Regions from separate parts of the Homo sapiens genome. Here region 1 is linked to region 2. Evidence: promoter capture Hi-C in human tissues and cell types (Jung and others, 2019). All regions are on one chromosome and are shown on one strand. Each heading gives the region's core, a stretch centred on a gene start or on the middle of the fragment in contact. The rest is flanking DNA. Distances are from core to core; before and after follow the strand shown.

Evidence for each region. The method cuts DNA at HindIII sites, captures the fragments that hold promoters and counts their contacts. A contact is called where the count stands out against the background at its distance.
Region 1: a fragment that was not itself captured here is called in contact with the fragment with the promoter of ABHD1 in region 2 in 1 of the 25 tissues and cell types used here (aorta).

What each region holds. Positions count from the first base shown.
Region 1 is chr2:28,332,433-28,335,852 of GRCh38, reverse strand. All of the region lies in intron 11 of BABAM2 (BRISC and BRCA1 A complex member 2), which reads right to left. Among named protein-coding and RNA genes, the nearest start is that of BABAM2-AS2, 24 kb to the right of the region's middle. The HindIII fragment of the contact is 4,592 bases long and covers 1-3,420 here.
Region 2 is chr2:27,122,390-27,125,743 of GRCh38, reverse strand. ABHD1 (abhydrolase domain containing 1) reads right to left here and starts at 1,929. Exons shown (of 9, transcript NM_032604.4): 1 at 1,682-1,929. The coding sequence starts at 1,795. RefSeq lists silencers at 1,845-1,984, 2,005-2,084. The HindIII fragment of the contact is 4,226 bases long and covers 1-2,505 here.

The sequences.
Region 1 (3,420 bases), core at 165-2,664, 1.2 Mb before region 2:
GGATACGAGCCCTGGATCTACTGCCTCTCCCTTCTTCTCATTTGACTACTTGCTCTTCCTCACACATGCCATTTGCCACCTCTGGGCTTATTCATGCTCAGGACAAATACTCCTGCTTCCATCAAGTCTCCCCTGGTCCCCAGGAGGTCATCTCCCTGCACACTGTCCGTGCTTCTTCTGGGGCACTTGTCCCATGTGCACAGGTCTTATCTGCCAGCCCCTGGAAAGCGGGAGCACATCCTGCTCCCAGTGACCACTAGGCCTGGCTCAGTGTAGAAAGCACTTGGTGATGGGCTGTGGCTTTAATGTAACTAATGATGACCACGAGCTTGCAAGAAGCAGTTACAGTATGTCCATTACAAGCTGTTTAAGAAGGCGGGAGAGGCTGGGCGCAGTGGCTCATGCCTGTAATCCCAGCACTTTTGGAGGCCGAGGCGGGTGTATCACCCAAGGTCAGGAGTTCAAGACCAGCCTGGCCAACATGGCGAAACCCCGTCTCTACTAAAAATATAAAAATTAGCCGGGTGTGGTGGTGGGCGCTTGTAGTCCCAGCTACTTGGGAAGCTGAGGCAGGAGAATCGCTTGAACCCGGGAGGCGGAGGTTGCAGTGAGCCAAGATCACGTCCGCACCATGGCACTCCAGCCTGGGCGGCAGAGCCAGACTCTGTCTCAAAAAAAAAAAAAAAAAAAAAAAAAAAGAAGGTGGGAGAGACAGCAGCTCCAGAAAGAGAACAGGTACAATATTTAGGTACTAAGGAAGAACACTTTAGTCCATTCTCAAATTTCAAACTTTGCCAACAGTTAGTAAGAAAAAGCACCCTCTTCCATCCACTTGTGATCAGCACAGCCCTGAGCCAGCCAAACCGCCACCTTCTCTGGCACTCAGGACCTCAAAGCCCTTATCCATTAACGGCACCATGCCACAGTCGCCACAGTCACCCTTAATGCAAAAGGGGTGCTGTGGTGTGACAGAGCTCCAGACCTAGGCAAGGCCGGGCAGGGCAGGAGAAGCCCTGGGCTCTGTTCCCTTACGAACAGTAGGGGTGATAAGGCCACCTGATGCCACACTCGCATGGGACAGTGTGTGGGAGGAGACAGTCAACTGTTGGCTGCCACCCAGACGTGAGGGCCACTTATTCCTTCCATATGTTTCACCTGCTGCTATTTCCCCAGCAACATGGAAGTGCGGCCGGAGAGAGCCTTGTGGCCCCGCTTCTCCAGAGGGTCTGAGATCGACAGGCTGCCACCAACCTCTGCTGCATGGACTCTGGCCTGATGTGCACTGTGGAGTCTGGCCCATCCCAGTACCACTTTCAGGGAGGGCTGAATGTTCCCTAAGTTAGAGGTGAGGACGTCACCTTCCCTGACCTTACAGCTACGAACATCAAGGGGAGAGGCTGCAGCTGAGCTGCACTATAGCCCCCACAGGTGCCTGATGAGCAGATGGTGCTGGAGCCACTGCTGCCCTGGACGCTGGCCTGAGCTGGGCAGGGGTCGGGTCCGGGGAGCCCTCCACTTACCTCCCCAGGCCCAGAGTCACACTGGGTCCCGAGGCAAGCCTCATCAGCTTAGTCTTTCCTTGTAAACTTCTAGGGGAAGGGGCTACAACATTGCAAGCTCCTTACACAGAAGGGAGCACGTTTTAAAGGCAAGCTTTTTTCTTTTTAGAAAGTTCTAAAGTTTCCTGTTCTGTCCTGGGCTTTCCCTGCCAGGGCCAACTGCGTGCTGCCAAGGGGAAGCGTGGCGAGGGCTATTTAAAGGCATGATGCTACCAGCTGTTTTCGGCGAGTGCCTCTCAACTTGGATCCTCATTAAGTTAGTTAACGGAGTGGGAGGAGGGGGAAAGGGAAAATGACAACTGGCTCCCACCCATTTATAGATTTTTTAAAACGCTGTTTTCATTTATTTCACTTTTTATCAGAGAAAATGGAGAGCTGCCCAGAGTACAGATTGCTAATGGCAAGAGGTATCTGTCATCTTTGAAAAAACCTTTGACCCAGAGACAAAGTATGTAGTAAGCTTTAAAAGTGTAAGCGTGTTCTAGGGGATAGTGAAGTCTTCTCACCTCCCCATTAACTGGCCAAGTGGGGCCCACAGGAGAGGGCCCTGAGTGTCAAGCTCCTCACTGAATGCACACTGTAAGGGAATCTATTTTTAGATGGCATTAGAGCTCAATATGCCTGAGGGCAAAATGAGGTTCAGTCCCTCTTCACTGATCTCAGTCTCTCTGCTCAGGGTTTCATAAAATTACAACTCGGTCCAACCCAGGAGTCTCAGTTAGGAGAAGAAAACGTAAGGACTGGGTAGGTTTCCCATGAATTCAGAGCAGAAGCAGGGCTGGCCCAGGCTTCAGCTCACAGGCATGGCATGGTGGAGGGAACTGAATCAGGAGTCAGGGGGTCTACTTTTGTGGGCCTTGGGCCCAGGGTAAATCTCTTCTGGGCTTCAGCTCCCTCACCTACAAAGCAGGGTGCCATAACTGAGGGTCCTAAGGCCGGTGGGCTGTAGAAGGTGAGGGTAGCCTGTGCGGGGCAGGCTCTGGAGCCAGGCGGACTGGGCTCGAGGCCTGGCCACACTCCTTACTCGTTGATCATGAGGGCAAGTGACTGCAGCGTTAGTTTCTTCATCTAAAAGGCGGGAGTAACTGCCTACCTTAAAGGGTTCTTGTGAGGAGTGAATGAGATGGTCTGGGTAAGCGCTTGGCATGGTACCTGGCATAAGAGATGATCAATAGATGTCAACTATTATCATGGGTACCCGCTGGGGCCAAGGGGAAGAGGCTCTGAGTCTGTGGAAACAGCCAGAAGAACGCGTGTGTGCCGAAGCGGGAAACCTGTGAGAGGTCTAGGGTCCTTGTCCTCAGTTCAGCCTTTCCCGAGGCTCCTTGGATCAGGCCCTCCCTTCTCACTGATCACACTGAGCTGGCAATCGCAGGCAGAGATGGCCAATCTCAGGCTTGGATACTCAGCCAAAGTCATGGGACACTGTGTGTCTTTTGCAATCCAGTCTAGAGCTGCTCATGGCATCCTTGTGGCATCAAAGGACAAATTCTGTAGCCAGAGGCACCTCCAGCCCTTGCGTGTCTTCTGCCCCCAAACCTACCAGGTGTACTCCTTGTGTGTGGTGTGCAGTTTTGGTCAGGGCTTGACCAGGGATGATGCTGCAGCTCTTCCTAGAAGGGTATTTAGGAATCACATGGCTCCGGCTGCCAAGAGCAGGGTGTTGGTTGGCCTGGTCCTCAAACAGCTCTCCTTCTGTCCAGGACAACATGCATCGTCAAGGGGAGGCAGTGGGGGAAGTGGAAAGAGCACTGCACTAGGAGGCACAGGACTCACAGCTCTAGCCCGGGCCCTGGCTCATTGTGTCATCCAGAACTGGGACTCCATTTCCTCACCTGTAACAGGATGATTTCTACTTAAT
Region 2 (3,354 bases), core at 680-3,179:
TTTTTAGTAGAGATAGGGGTTTCACCATGTTGGCCAGGCGGGTCTCGAACTCCTGACATCAAGTGATTCGCCCGCCTCAGCCTCCCAAAATGCTGGGATTACAGGCATGAGCCACTGTGCTCGGCTGAGTTACTATCAGTTTATTAATTCCTTGGTCAAACGGCCCAGTAGTGTGGAACAAGACTTATAAATTTGTTCACAGGTTTGATTTATGTGGGTTAATTTGATTTTAACTCAAGAAAATGTTTCTTGACTCCCTCCTGAGAATGAATTAGTATTACAATATGGCACTGGTTGCTATGCTTAAATCAGTATAGATCCATTACAGTGCTGGCCAATCCAAACACCGTATCTAGAGGGCCTCCAGAATGGCACTTTTCCTGCATTTTAACCAGTATTCGTTAGCTTATAAAGGGTTTAGTCTATAAAGCAGCAGGGGCCCAGATTTCTGTGCAGCTAGTTGCAAGTAAAGGAAAGTGTTTCCTTAGGGGCAGTTTTGTTCTGAAGTGACCTTCCAAATCTGATGTATAAAGTGAGGCCTACAGAGTATTGTGAGGCTTGGAGTTTTTAACTGTTTTATTAAGGAAGACTTTTTTTTTTTTTTTTGAGACGGAGTTTCACTCTTGTTGCTCAGGCTGGAGTGCAATGGCACGAGGCTCATTGCAACCTCCGCCTCCCAGGTTCAAGTGATTCTCCTGCCTCAGGCTCCCGAGTAGCTGGGATTATAGGCATGTGCCACCATGCCTGGCTAATTTTTGTATTTTTAGTAGAGATGGGGTTTCTTCATGTTGGTCAGGCTGCTCTCGAACTCCCGACCTCAGGCGATCCTCCCGCCTCTGCCTCCCAAAGTGTTGGGATTACAGGCGTGAGCCACCACACCCGGCCCTAAGGAAGACATTTAGTAAACAATATATGCTAATGTAGAAAGCTCTGAAAATATGGAAAAGTCTAGGTAACACTAAAGTCTCCTATAGACCTTTTTAAAGGACTCGAACCAGTAGGTGTCTTGTTAGACTCAGCTACCTAGAACAGAGTTTAATGAAGATGAAGAGATTTGGCTTTTCCTGGATATGTAAATTATGTATATATCTAAATTTCAGTGAGAAAAGTCTCCAAATTCATCAAAATCAACCTCTTCAAACTTTCTCATCACACTCACTATATGGAGAGCCTGGAACATAAAACGGCTGAATGAGCAAGGACAGTTGGGGTCATCCATCAGTTCTGAGCTAGGCCAGTTCTGACCTCAGCCAGCCCTTAAGGGAAGGGAGGTCCTACTAAGCTATTTGGGGGGTGGGTGGTATTGGGAGTTAGCCATGACCCACAGACCTCTGGTTCCTTCCTTCAGTGCAGCTGAAAGACTCAGCTAAACCACCTAAAAAGGAACGCAAAGTGTGCACATCTCTGATACCTCAGGATGCCTTCCACCCCACCTTTCCCCAAATGCTTGTCCACATTATAGGGAGCAGCACCCTCCGGTACCCAAAAGGCCCAGCTGGCATGGGGATCACATGGGATGCAGAGGCACTAGAGAGGCAGAGCCGACTCTCCATTCGGTGGTAGCAAATTTCACCTGTGGGGAAGCCCAACCATCCCAGTTCCCACCAAGGGCCCAAGCCCGTGTCTGGAAGCTGCCCCCTACACCCAAACCCGCTGGCCAGAGCGGTGGACCCGCACCCACCTGAAGCACACATGCCCAGTAGTAGCCCAAGTAGAGGGCAACGGCAAGAGCCAAGAGCAGAGAGAAGGTGTCTGCCCAGGTGCCATTCTGGGGGCTCAGGAAGGAGCTCAGCATCTTGTGTTGGGGGCTTCCGACCCTCAGGCTCCTGGCTGGCCCCAGTTGGCCGGCTGTAACTCGCGGTCCCACCCGCCGCCCGCCATAGGCGGCCTGTGCAGGTCCGGTCCCCGCTGCAGGCAGTTTGCGCTGCTGGCCCCGCCCACCGCCGGTGCCCCGGGATGGGCGGCGAGAGGCGGCGCTAGTTGGTCGCGGGGCTGGGTGGCTGGTCGCCTAGTGCCTCGCGCGGATCTAACCCGAGTGACCTGCGAATGGCCTCCCGCCCTCCCCTGCCTTCTTCCCCTCCGCGGTTCTTGGCTGTGCAGCCCGAGACAAGCGGCCTCCCCCAGCTGCCATCTTGGTGCGGGGCATCTCCAGCTCCCTTAAACTCTTCCCCGGCGACGCCCCGAGTCCAGCAGCCTGGCCAGAGTCCCTTAGGCGCTCGCAGTCAGTCACGCACAGGACACAGCTACTCCTGCAGTGACATTCTGCTCTGTCACACACTACAGCCATTCACAGTGACCCTCACCAGTCACTGTCCGACTGTGACACCCCACACTGTCACAAAGCTTTCAGCTGCTCAGTGGTGGCATTGCAACACATGCACCTTCCTGCAGTGTCACTCTGCATTGTCTCATACAGTCCCTGCCACACAGTCCTCGTACAGTAGATAATTTGCTCACCACCCGCCCTGTACCAGGCACTTGATACAGACCCCCCATGTTACTGTCCGTGTCTTCATTGAAATATAGGAGGTCGTCTACTAAGAGTAGTGGCTTTCAACCTTGACTGCAGATCGGAATCATCTAGGATTTTTAAAACTACCAGTGCCCAGGCCCTACCCCCGATACAGTTAGTCTGGAGAGGAGCCTAGGTATCAATACACCGTAAAGCTTCTAGGAGGTCCACAAGTCATCAGGGCTTAACATGGTCCACACAAGAGAAGTACCAGCTGCCATGGGAGCACTGCGGAGGTGCCCGGACTTCACGCGAGGGTGTTCTAGCAGAGGGGGCAGCAAAGGCAAAAGCCTGGAGGTGAAGGATGTCTTAAGGGAACAAAGAAAGTTGGTGTGGCTGGAGCATGTGGGTGGTCAAGGACCACATAATTGCTGCAGTTTATCCTAGGGTCAGAGGAAAGCCATCCAGGGGTTTTAAGAAGGGAAGGGTGACATGAGTTATGTTTTAGGAGAATCATTCAGTTGCTTGGAGAATAGATTGGAGGAGGAGGAAAGTAGAAGCAGAGAGGCCACTGGGAGGCTGCTAACAGAACGCCAGGCTCAAAAGATGCCCGGACTGGAGGATACCCAGGAGAGGAGTGAAGATCTTCAAGATCAGTGGCAGAATTGATAGGACCTGGTAGTAGATTGGAGGCAGGGGAAGAAGGAGGAACATGGATGACCTCCAGGTTTCTGACTGCACAGATATAAAGTGTCCATCCCTGGGACAGGGAAACAGAGGAGAGGAAGGTTTGAAGAGGAAGATGATGCATTTAGACACAGACATGTAGAAGTTGGGGTGCTGGTAGGTGTTTTAACTGTGTTTCCTTAGGTTCTGTATTTGTCTATTTGGCATCCATAAAT